2 separate regions of the Homo sapiens genome follow, and region 1 is linked to region 2. The links are contacts of gene promoters, found by promoter capture Hi-C in human tissues and cell types (Jung and others, 2019). All regions are on one chromosome and are shown on one strand. Each heading gives the region's core, a stretch centred on a gene start or on the middle of the fragment in contact. The rest is flanking DNA. Distances are from core to core; before and after follow the strand shown.

Region 1 (6,193 bases), core at 3,446-5,945, 330 kb after region 2:
AATGTAGCTACCTGCATCAGGATTTAGTCCTGCCTTCAACACCTTGGCCAGGCTAACTGACCCCTTTGAACTTTAGTTTCCTTATCTGTAAAATGAGGAAAATAATCTGTAAAACAGGGTTGTTGTGAGGGTTGGAAATAATGCCCATAAAGAGTATGTCATATATGCTCAACAAATAGTAGCTATTATTTTGCTAAAAAGTATAAAGCCAGATTCTTGTTCTAAATAAGCTTGTCACCTGGTTGAGTAAACAAGACCTGAATAAGATAAGATAACTAACAACCCAAGGCAGTGTGGGGTAGAGTTTAGAAGTAAGTACATAAGTAGGGTGGTAATGTTTTGCTTGGGGAACTGGGATTTTAACATTCACTATGGTTATTTAAAAAAAAAAAAAAAAAAGAGCTGGGCATGGTGGCTCACACCTGTAATCCCAGCACTTTGAGAGGCTGAGGCGGGCAGATCACCTGAGGTCAGGAGTTCGAGACCAGCCTGACCAACATGGACCAACATTCTCTACTAAAAATACAAAATTAGCCAGGCATGGTGGCGCATGCCTTTAATCCCAACTACTTGGGAGGCCGAGGCAGGAGAATCACCTGAACCTGGCAGGCAGAGGTTGCACTGAGCTGCGATCAGACCATTGCACTCCAGCCTGGGCAACAAGAGGGAAACTCCATCTCAAAAAAAAAAAAAAGAAGAAAGAAAGAGTGGAAACAAAATAAGCATTCTTCAAGTAACTGATACGTGCTGAACATTTTGCTAAATGCATTACATGTATTATTTAATTTTTCTAACGATGCTATGAGGTAGGTATTATTGCCTCTCTTCTTTATTTGTTGTTGTTGTTGAGAAAGGGTCTCACTTTGTTTTCCAGGCTGGAGTACAGTGGCACGATCACTGCTCACTGCAGCCTTGACTTTCTGGGCTCAAGCTATCCTACCACCTCAGCCTCCTAAGTAGCTGGGACTACAGTTACACACCACCACACCCAGCTAATTCTTTCTTTTTTCTTTCTTTGCCACCACCACACCAGCTAATTCTTTTCTTTTCTTTTCCTTTTCTTTCCTTTCTTTCTTTCTTTCTTTTTCTTTCTTTCTTTCTCTTTCTTTCTTTCTTTCTTTTTCTTTCTTTCTCCCTTTCTTCCCTTTCTTTCCTTTCTTTTCTTGCTTTTCTTTCTTTTTTTTTTGTAGAGATGGGGTCTCTCTATGCTGCCCTGACTGGTCTCAAACTCCTGACCTCAAGTGATCCACGTGCCTCAGCCTCACAAAGTGCTGGGATTACAGGTGTGAGCCACCATACCCAGCCTTCTTTATTTGTTAACTATGCTTTTTCTTCCAGAGGAAGAAGAGACTTTCTTCACCTAGTCTTTTACTCATCTTTCATATCTCAATTCAAACATATTTCCTCTGGTCACCCTTGCTGACCCTCGGACCCTGTTCCGGGCTCCAGTGGCATGATAGGCATTTCTTTCCCAGTGTGTTACTTTACCCTTAGTTGTATTAATGTCTGTGTCCTTTCAAAAGCCTGAAAATGTCAGTGAAAGGAGTGTTTGGTCTGATTTTGTTTCCATTCCATCTCCAGCAGCTAGCACCAAATAGTAGGCTTTTGATAAATATTTGTTGACTGAAGGAATAAATGAATGAATATTTTACCCAGCATCTTCAGTGAGTACCCATTGTTTCATCAAGGAAATGTAGATAAGGGCGCCAAGAGAAGCCGTTTTCAGGTGCTACCTCCTCCTTGGAGCTGCAACCAAGGAAAGCTTTTTATAAGCTGCCCTTCCCCCAAAGCCCCTAAAAAGAAGTGATTCTGAAGTCAACCCACACAAGAGTACCATACTAAGAACACAAGTATTTTCACAAATTTGATCTTATCATCAAGTGTTCATTTAAATAACATGTACTTACATTTCTGGTAAGTATAAACTGGTACATTCAGTATGGAAATCAATTTGTCAGTAATTGTTACCCTGACCCCCACTTGTTTTTTAAACACCTCAAGACCATTGAGGTGTTAAAAAAGACCACTGACTACCATTTGGCAATGTCTATAAAAATAAAAGCATACACATGCCCTTTAGCCCAGAATTCCACTTTTAGGATTTATCCTTCCACATGTAGAGAATGGAGTGTTTAAAGGTAGCACTGTTGCAGCACTGTTTGTGATAATGAAAGACTGGAAAAAACAGCCCATCAGTAGAGAACTGGTTAAATAAAAGATGGTGCATTCAGACAGTGAATTACCATAAAGCCAGAAAAAAGAGAGTAAGTTCTGTATATATCGACAAGATCTCCACAATATATTGTTAAATGAAAAGGGTTTATAGTATGTGAGCAGTATGCTACATTTATGTTAAAATGAACATAAAAAATAGAATACAATGAGACACCACCTCACACTCACTAGGATGGCTATAACACAAACAAGCAAAAAAACCCAGAAAAGAACAAATGTTGATGAAAATGTAGAAAAAACAGAACCCTCATACATTGCTGTTAGAATGTAAAATAGTGCAGCTGCTTTAGAATAGTTCCTCAAAAAGTTAAACATAGAGTTACTGTATGATCCAGCAGTTTAGCTCCTAAATATATACCCAAGTGAACCGAAGATGTATGTTCACACACAAACGCTTATACACAAATGTTCATAGCAGCATTATTCATAATAGCCAAAAAAGTAGAAACAACCCAAATGTCCGTCAACTGGCTAAAGGATAAACAAAATGTGATACAATGGAATATTATTCAGCCATAAAAAATGAAGTATTGATACATGCTACAATATGGATGCACCTTGAACACATTATGCTAAGTGAAAGAAACCAGAAACAAAAGGGTACATATCGTATGATTCCATTTATATGAAATGTCAGAATAGGCAAATCCAGGGCTGGGCGTAGTGGCTCCCACCTGTAAGCCCAGCACTTTGAGGATCCCAGCACAGAGACCAAGGTGGGCAGATCACTGGAGGTCAGGAGTTTGAGACCAGCCTGGCCAACATGGTGAAACCCTGTCTCTACCAAAAAGACAAAATTAGCCAGGCATGGTGGTGCTGACCTGTAGTCCCACCTACCTGGGAGGCTGAGACAGGAAAATCGCTTGAACCCAGGAGGCAGAGGTTGCAGTGAGCCGAGATCACACCACTGCACTCCAGCCTGGGCAACAGAGCAAGACTGTCTCAAAAAAAAAAAAAAGGCAAATCCACAGAGACAGAAAGTAGGTAAGTGGTTGCCAAGGGCTGGAGGAGAGGGGACTGGGGAATGACTGCTAGTGGGTACAGGGTGGTTTTTTTTTTGGTGTGTGGGCTGGTGATGAAATGTTCTAAAATTAGTGCTGACAGTTATACAAGTCTATGAATGTACTTAACCATTGAATTGTATCCTTTAAAACGGTGGATTTTGATATGTGAACTATATCTGAATAAAGTCATTATTTTCTTTAAAGGAGGGCAAGTTGAAGACATCGTCAGATGACAAACAAAAACAGAGTTAGCTGCCGTAGGCCCTTACCGTGGAAACTACTGAAGAATGAACCTAAGACACAAGAAAACTGAACCCAAAAGGAAATAGGGAAATGCAAGAAAAAATGGTAAGGAAATATTTACAAAACATATGGATGTATCTAAACAAATTATGACTACTCAAAACTATTTTTAGTAATAATGGTTGATTTAGAAAAGTAAAAATAACAAGATAAACTGAAAAATTGGTAAACATTTCAGATGGGAACAGTGAGCAAAGATGAAGTTTAATATGTTTTTATTTGGGAGGAAAGTAAATATTGATTAATGTTAGACTTTTTTTTTTTTTTTGAGACAGAGTCTTGGTCTTGTCACCCAGGCTGGAGTGCAATGGTGCAATCTCGGTTCACTGCAACCTTCGCCTCCCAGGTTCAAGTGATTCTCCTGCCTCAGCCTCCCGAGTAGCTGGGATTACAGGCACCCACCACCATGCCCAGCTAATTTTTGTATTCTTAGTAGAGACATTTCACTATGTTGGCCAGGCTGGTCTCAAACTCCTGACCTCAAGTGATCCACCTGCCTCAGCCTCACAAAGTGCTGGGATTACAGGTGTAAGCCACCACACCCAGCCAATTTTAGACTTTTTAAGTCTGTATATTAAAATGTTAAGAGTTGGTTGGGCGCGGTGGCTCATGCCTATAATCCTGGAACTTTGGTAGGCCAAGGCAGGTGGATCAGTTGAGGTCAGGAATTCAAGACCAACCTTATTAAATAAATAAATATATTTATATTTATTATTTATTTTTATCTTTTTGAGACAGTCTCACTCTGTCACCCAGGCTGGAGTGCAGTGGTGCGATCTCAGCTCATTGCAACCTCCACCTCCCGGGTTCAAGCGATTCTCCTGCCTCAGCCTCCCGAGTAGCTGAACTACAGGTGCCAGCCACCACACCTAGCTAATTTTTGTACTTTTTTTTAGTAGAGATGGGGTTTCACCATGTTGGCCAGGCTGGTCTCGAACTCCTGACCTCAGGTGATCCACCTGCCTCAGCCTCCCAAAGTGCTGGGATTACAGGCATGAGCCACCGCACCCGCCAAAAAAAATTAAAATGTTAAGGGTAGCTCTTCCTCTTCCTTCTCTTCCTGTACAATTCAGTCTTCAGGCCATTAGGTAAAATAGTACAAGGTGTCTACAATGAAGAGGAGGGCCGGTGGCCCAGAGTGGAATGTCACTTTTATTCACTATTATGTCCTCAGTGTCTGAAACATGTTCACTCAATATTTGGCTCACTGTGTCACTTCCTTCTGGACCCTGATCAAATGTCATTTCTCAGGGAGGCTTTCCCAATCATTTCATGTACAGTAACACTCACCACCTACTCTTCTCCTTTACCCTGTTTTATTTTTTCTTCATAGTACTCAACACCAACAAACCTGTTTTATATTTATTTGTTGATTATCTATCTTCCTCCGCTAGAATGTAGCTCCTTGAGAACAAGGACTCGGACTATTGTGTCAATTATTATGTTCCTAAACCCAGAATAGTGCCTTCCATGTGGTATATGCTCAACAAATATTTGTCGAATGAACGAATCATGTTTATGTATCTGAGATATTTTATAACTGAAAGGAAACACACCAAGCATGGTGGCTGACGCCTGTAATATCAGCACTTTGGGAAGCTGATGTGGGAGCATTGCTTGAGCCCAAGAGTTCAAGACCAGCCTAGGCAACATGACAAGACCCCGTCTCTAAAAAAATTAATAATAATTATGACAGAGCAGCTGATCAATTTCTAATTCTATTTATTGATGTTTGTTGCACAGCATTTTTACAGTGATCATCTCTGGGTGATATAATGAACTCCTTTTTTCCTCCTATTTTCTCCCATGTGCATCTGTTACTTTTACGATCAGAGAAAAAAATTAAAATTTACTAACATTTTGTAAATTTACAGCTTGAGCAACATTGTGACAATGAAGGGAAAACAAACACAGGAGTTTGGATGGGGAAATTGGGTCAAAAGCTTGGAGCAGCTAGTGGGAGGCGGGAGTGGAGTGGGAGGGCCTGGCAGTATGGCACCAGAGGAAGGTGCCCACAGAGAGTTGGCCCTGGAAGTTGGGCAGAGGGCACCCAAGGCAAGCAGTGGCTTCTTCACCTCGCACCTGAGCCAGCAACCTAAATTCTGAGTCTGGTTGTGGTACTAACTAACCACTCACCTGGGGCCAGCCACTTCTTCAGGCCTCAGTTTCCTCATCTGTGAAGCTCAGGTCTGAGGGAGACAAGCTGTCTCTCTCAGAGCCTTTCTACCTAAGAGGTGTGTGGTCCTAGAACCTGCACTGAGAAGCTGTGGTGTGGGTGGGGGACTCCCACTGACACAGCAGGCCTCTGCTCTCAAGCTCTGTCTGCGAAATACTGGATGAACAGTGTAGAATAGGAGAAAAACAGTATTCAAAACTATATGGGCTCTCTAAGTTATCCATGATAAATGCATAGAGAGAGAGAGAGAGAGAGAGAGAGAGACTGACAGTGTATCTACTCTTAAATAGTAACATTTTTCACTGGGCAGGGTCCTCTTATTCATTAGTCACAATAAGCACAGTTCCTGGGGCCTATAGACTTTTCAGGGACTCTCAAACATATTTGAGATATAGAAAACAAAATATATTGGCTTCAAAAAATTTTAAATGACAGAACTAAAATTCATAAACATTTAATCAAAGGTCTGCAAAAT
Region 2 (6,538 bases), core at 893-3,392:
GGTTCTGTTTCTATTGCTTGCTTTTTCTTTTGGCTATGACTCATATTTTCCTGTGGGTTTTTTTTTTCTTTCACACGCCTTTTAATTTTTCATTGTATATTAGACATTGTAGATAGTGAACTTTAGAAACTGGGTTATCTTCCATTGAGGGGTGTTGATTTTTGTTCTAATAAGCAATTAACTTACTAGTTGATCACCTTGAACCCGCTGAGGCTTGGTTTTATCTTTTGCTAGTATGAGTCAGCTTTGGCTTTGACCTTACTCTCAGAACAAATATTTAGTCCTGGGATATAGATTTTAGCTCTATGGTGTGGCCTTTTGGGAGTTTCAAGTAGAAAGCCCTAAGTGTTTACCCAGACCCTCTGACTTGGGATTCAAATTCAAACTCTTTCTCTGCTACAGTGGGTAACAGTCAAAATCTGCTTAGCTCTTTCAGACCTCCAGTGGTTGTCTTTTACTGGGCTCTTGGAAATTCCTCCATCCACAGTTCAGCAGTCAGCCTATGATTTGAGGGGAGTTTATATGCAGATTTAAAGACTTTGCCTTCTGTGGCTTCTTTCATTCCAGGAAATCCACCTTCAGCTGTTCTGGAGTCCCAAACTGTCCTCTGTCTCCTGTCCTCTGTCCTCTGACTCTTCAAGCCAAAAAAGGCTGGGGCTTTCTGCTCAAGTTCTAGCTATCCTGTGCCATTTATACTCGGGAGTACACTCAGGGAAAAAAAAAAACAACAATGTAGATGGTTCTTTTCATTGAAGAGTTGAGTTCCTTTCAGTTTCTGCCTGCTTTGGATACTTTAGGTGTTTTCAAAAAGTTGTTTTTCATATTGTGTCCAGTTTACAATTTTTTTGCCTAAGGGGGCATTCATCTAATAAACTATTCTGCCATTACTGGACCATCCTTTCACTTTTAAACTTACTTATACCTAAAGTGTGTCACTTTTAACTCATCTATATATATAGTCTCGCTCTGTCCCACAGGCTGGAGTGCAGTGGCGTGATCTCGGCTCACTGCAGGCTCCGCCTCCCGGGTTCACGCCATTCTCCTGCCTCAGCCTCCCAAGTAGCTGGGACTACAGGCGCCCACCACCACACCCAGCTAATTTTTTGTATTTTTAGTAGAGACGGGGTTTCACCGTTAGCCAGGATGGTCTCGATCTCCTGACCTTGTGATCCACCCATCTCAGCCTCCCAAAGTGCTGGGATTACAGGCTTGAGCCACCACGCCCGGCCAACTCATCTATATATTTATGATCTGCTGAGGTGGAAAAGATTCATTCATAAAGCCTAAAGTGTAGTACTGAGTACAAGTGCAGGTGGAACTTAAAGCAGAGTTGGTGTCACTGGGGTGGGCTGCACAGAAGAGGTGTTTGTGAGGTAGGCTGTGAGGGCTAGATAAGACTTCAATGAACAGACAGGAGGAAGACTGTGGCGACTTGTTGAGCTAAGGGTAGGGGTAGGCATGAACATGGCGTAAGGACAGTGAACAGACCCACCTCCCTGGCTGGAGGTCTGAGTAGGAAAGGCACACTCTTTGAGTAGATTCAACACAAAGAAATGGAGGCAGCCTGGCTCAGGGATGCCCTAGACCTCTAGGCATTGTCAAGTTGCCTAAGTCCTGTTCCATCAAGGCTGTTTACTGATGTGCTTCCAGGGCACTCCCCACTCCCAGCCCTTTCCTGCAGCCCAGGGCTGGTTCCTAGCCTCTCAGCAGACTTAAGATGGGCACCTTCCACAAAGGGGCAGATGAGTTGAGGAAAACTTAACTGATACAGTTGTGCCAGAAGCCAAAATAAGAGGCGTGCCCTTTCTATAGCCCCATTAAAAGAACAAAAAAGTGGAAGCATCTTCAGTGAATATGGGTCAGCACCTCCCAGACCTCAGGGAGTCCACTTCTGTTCATCCCAGCACCCAGCATTGCATATCCAGATTATTTGAGCCCAATCTCTTATCCTCTGAAGAACACAATCGGCTTTGGGGCCACAAAAGGTTTAGGTAGTGGTTTAGGGATTTCTAATCCCAAACTTTGTCCTTGGGAGGTTTAGGATTAGTATTGATCATTCACAGAGCCCAAGTGTTTTTAGAGGAGGGGTTTTGTGGGGTGGGAGGATCACCTATAAGAGGACTCAGAGGGGGGTGTGGGGCATCCATGAGAAAAATGTCGGAGGAAGAGTTTTATCTGTTCAAAAATATCTCTTCAGTGGGGCCGTGGGATGGGCCTCAGTACCACATTGCCCCTGTCTGGGCCTTCTACCTCCAGGCAGCTTTCATGGGCACTGTCTTCCTTATAGGGTTCCCACTCAATGCCATGGTGCTGGTGGCCACACTGCGCTACAAAAAGTTGCGGCAGCCCCTCAACTACATTCTGGTCAACGTGTCCTTCGGAGGCTTCCTCCTCTGCATCTTCTCTGTCTTCCCTGTCTTCGTCGCCAGCTGTAACGGATACTTCGTCTTCGGTCGCCATGTTTGTGCTTTGGAGGGCTTCCTGGGCACTGTAGCAGGTACTGCAGGGGAAAAAGGGGTTAGGGGAAGGCAAAGGTTGCTACTCCACTGGAGGGGGTTCCTAAAGAGGAGTCTGGGGGAAATGAGTCTGGTGCTTTTTAAAATACTGGGGTACAAAGCAACCCAGACTAGAAGTTTGGCTAAAATAGGATGTTTGAGTCTTCACTCCAAATGTCAGTCCAGCCCTGTCTCTCTGTGCTTGCTCCACCCGATCTGTTTGCCACTCTGCCAGCCAGGCTGGGTGGGGCTCTGTCTAGCCCATTATCCTCACATTTCACCACAGGTCTGGTTACAGGATGGTCACTGGCCTTCCTGGCCTTTGAGCGCTACATTGTCATCTGTAAGCCCTTCGGCAACTTCCGCTTCAGCTCCAAGCATGCACTGACGGTGGTCCTGGCTACCTGGACCATTGGTATTGGCGTCTCCATCCCACCCTTCTTTGGCTGGAGCCGGTGAGAGTGCAGGGCAGTGGTGCTGAGTTAACTAGGAGCTCAGGTTGATGTGGGTGGAAAGAGAGCTTGGGTATAACTATTTAGTCTTTGACCTCTACTTTTAAAGAGTTGCAATATGAGGCGAAAGGGCAGTGGGAGACAAGTGCTAACGTTTACTCTGCAGTTGGAATTGCTGTAGCTTCTCCCAGTCAGGACAGAAAACCCCCCTGCTTGAAGCCTTAGGGCATTCCGTGGGTTCTAAGTGGAGAACACAATCCAGGCATCTCAGCTCCCACTGCACTCTTGTGGAGAGTCCAGTGAGCAAGTGTTTGGTCCTTTGCAGGTTCATCCCTGAGGGCCTGCAGTGTTCCTGTGGCCCTGACTGGTACACCGTGGGCACCAAATACCGCAGCGAGTCCTATACGTGGTTCCTCTTCATCTTCTGCTTCATTGTGCCTCTCTCCCTCATCTGCTTCTCCTACACTCAGCTGCTGAGGGCCCTGAAAGCTGTGAGTGGCATTTGATAGTCAGGGAAGAAGGGGTTCGGGGCTCCACATGAGAAGGAAGAGTGCTCTGAAACATAAGATGCCTGGAAATGTCCATAGCCAGAGAGGGTATCTAAAAGCAGCAAAGGAAGTAGGAGGAGGGAGAATGATGGAGATCCAAAGGAACTAGGCCAGGAGATGGGACAGAAAAGAGGCAATCAGAGTGGATGCCCCCTCCCCCATCCCACAGAAAAGCATCCAGAGACCGGGCGCAGTGGCTCACGCCTATAATCCCAGCACTTTGGGAGGCCGAAGCAGACGGATCACCTGAGGTCAATAGTTCCAGACCAGCCTGGCCTACATGGCAAAATGCTAAAATGCGAAAATTAGCTGGGCATGGTGGTGTGTGCTTGTAACCCCAGCTACTCAGGAGGCTGAGACAAAAGAATCACTTGAACCCGGGAGGTGGAGGTTCAGTGAGCCGAGACTGCACCACTGCAACTCCAGCCTGGGCAACAGAGCGAGACTCGGTCTCAAAAAGAAAATTAAAAATTAAAAATTAAAAAAAAAAAAAAAAAGCATCCAGAGGGCCAGGAAAAAGAGAGATGTGATGCTTTCCGTGCTCCACCCCAGGTTGCAGCTCAGCAGCAGGAGTCAGCTACGACCCAGAAGGCTGAACGGGAGGTGAGCCGCATGGTGGTTGTGATGGTAGGATCCTTCTGTGTCTGCTACGTGCCCTACGCGGCCTTCGCCATGTACATGGTCAACAACCGTAACCATGGGCTGGACTTACGGCTTGTCACCATTCCTTCATTCTTCTCCAAGAGTGCTTGCATCTACAATCCCATCATCTACTGCTTCATGAATAAGCAGGTAAAGCTCTTTATTCACATTCCTATGGTCCAGAAGACCCTGGTTCTTTTCTCACCATTGACTTTTAACTCAGAGCACCCTGGACTCTACCCAGGTTTCTAGTAGACGAGGGAAGCCACAAAACCCCCGAGTAGGTTGGGAAGCCTTTGGTAAGCACAGGGAGGAAGGCACGGTTATCAAGACGAGAAAATAGAACCCCGGAGGAAAGAACTTGAGTCAGGAAAATGAAGTTGCTCCAAAGAACAGGATGAATGAAAGCATTTTATTGAAAAACTCGTGCAGCAAACCACCATGGCACACGTTTACCTATGTAACAAACCTGCACATCCTGCACATGTATCCTGGAACTTAAATAAAATTAAAAAAATAAAAATAAAAACTCAGATTCCTCTCAATTTTCAGTCCTTGCATTTAATAATTTCTTAATCATTTCCCTTCCAACTTTTAGCCTGCACGAGCATGTGTGAAGCACAGAAATCATACCACATGCAAAAATCTCTAAAATATCTTATCATCTGAAGGTACTGGGGGATTTCCTATCCCATCTGAAATCCGAGCTAATAAACACCAAACCCTAAGTGGCAAAAACCCTACTTTCAGATGGTATTGTTTCCTCAATCCCAGAGGTAGACTCAAAACTAATTTGAAACCTCCCTGGATAGAAGAGAATTGGCAGTCCTTTCCAGCTGGGAGCACCTGCTAGTAATGGAGGGGCCTCTGCTGACAGTGCTTTTATGAAGCAGGATGGTTTGTGAATTTACCAACAGTGAGGTCTCAGACTTGACCAGTTTAGGATTACCGTAGACCCAGGAGTAGTTCTAGACTGGAATCTAGATAGTTTTCAGGATGGGGAAGATAGATTCAAAACCACCTAAGGGCATTCTGGGTACAAAGCATTGTGCAAGGCTTTGGTGATACAGAGAATAAGGTCTTTTTTCCCATACTTCCTCATCTGCCAAGGTTATCTCCAATTGTACCTTTCTCTCCAGTTCCAAGCTTGCATCATGAAGATGGTGTGTGGGAAGGCCATGACAGATGAATCCGACACATGCAGCTCCCAGAAAACAGAAGTTTCTACTGTCTCGTCTACCCAAGTTGGCCCCAACTGAGGACCCAATATTGGCCTGTTTGCAACAGCTAGAATTAAATTTTACTTTTAAGTAAGTTTCTATTGTCTCCGTCAGAAACCAAACTACTAAAAACACAAAAAAGATGGTAAAAGGAGTGATGGCAGTTTGGGGAGTCAATTTTTCATTTTCTTACTATTGCCTTCTTGCCTACAAAGCTACTGTTTCCACTGGTCTATTTCAGACCACCCAAAGGCCATTTCAACAATCATCAGTTTCTACTCCTAAGTGGCACCATTCACAGCACTTGGAGAACTGATTTCTACATACAAGGCAACCAAAAAGGAATATGCTTTAAGTTTTCAGTGTATGGATACTTTCCTTTTTAGTAACTTTTTTTTTTTTTCCTGCTGGGGATCCATTCTGAGATGATATATGCTGAATTAGAACAAACTTAAGAAAACACTTTAGAAATGGGAGAGACATAAAGAAAAAACAAAACAAAACAAAAAAAAAAACAAAAAAAACTCAGTGGCCCCAAATATGAGTTTGAAAGAACTTTTGGATAACTGCTACAGCTTTGGCAGGAACAGCCATGTCCACAAGCCCCTGAGCAAGCACAAATTATTCCAGGTGCTTCCTCCCCGTTGCATTTGGCTAAACCTTTATATTTGTCTTAAACTGTGTGTTTACTAAAGTTAATAGTTTAATTCTCTCGAGGTTCTCAAAATGAATTTGCATGTTTTAATAACATTTGTAAACAATACCAAAATGTTAAACAAAATTGTTTTACCTTATGCTCTATAGATAAACGTGTGTGTACATTCAGAATCGCTTGTGTTTGGTATCAGATAATTATATAACGAGCAGCAGGTCTCTCCAGTTATACGGCCTAATGGAAGTAAAAAAGGGTTATGGCTGTGGTGAGAAGGATGCTAGAAAATACCAGAAAACAGGGAGAAAAGAATAATCATTTAGGAGAAGGCAGTGCTGTCTCTGAGTTTGGGAGAACTTCGAGGAGAGTTCCCATTCTGACATTTTAGAGCATCCATAATTCTAAGCTAGAGTTCTATTTCTTGGAAAATGAAGGTCATACATACCCCATAATGAATGTAAACAGTTTTATTTAGAAACAGATAGGTACCTGTTCGCATTGCAGAATATAAAACTTGGTTTACACTCTA

The links. Contacts are between HindIII fragments. The study calls those that stand out against the background at their distance.
Region 1: a fragment that was not itself captured here is called in contact with the fragment with the promoter of OPN1SW in region 2 in 2 of the 25 tissues and cell types used here (adrenal gland and bladder).

What each region holds. Positions count from the first base shown.
Region 1 is chr7:128,447,696-128,453,888 of GRCh38, reverse strand. No RefSeq gene overlaps it. Among named protein-coding and RNA genes, the nearest start is that of HILPDA, 5.1 kb to the left of the region's middle. The HindIII fragment of the contact is 7,397 bases long and covers 997-6,193 here.
Region 2 is chr7:128,771,398-128,777,935 of GRCh38, reverse strand. OPN1SW (opsin 1, short wave sensitive) reads left to right here and starts at 2,142. Exons shown (of 5, transcript NM_001385125.1): 1 at 2,142-2,497; 2 at 2,782-2,950; 3 at 3,273-3,438; 4 at 4,048-4,287; 5 at 5,277-5,451. The coding sequence starts at 2,155. The coding sequence ends at 5,396. It overlaps CALU (calumenin), which reads right to left. Exons shown (of 7, transcript NM_001219.5): 7 at 4,536-6,538. RefSeq lists cis regulatory regions at 1,676-2,145, 1,046-2,145, 1-2,145, 1-2,145, 1,154-2,148 and 1 more. The HindIII fragment of the contact is 13,114 bases long and covers 1-6,538 here.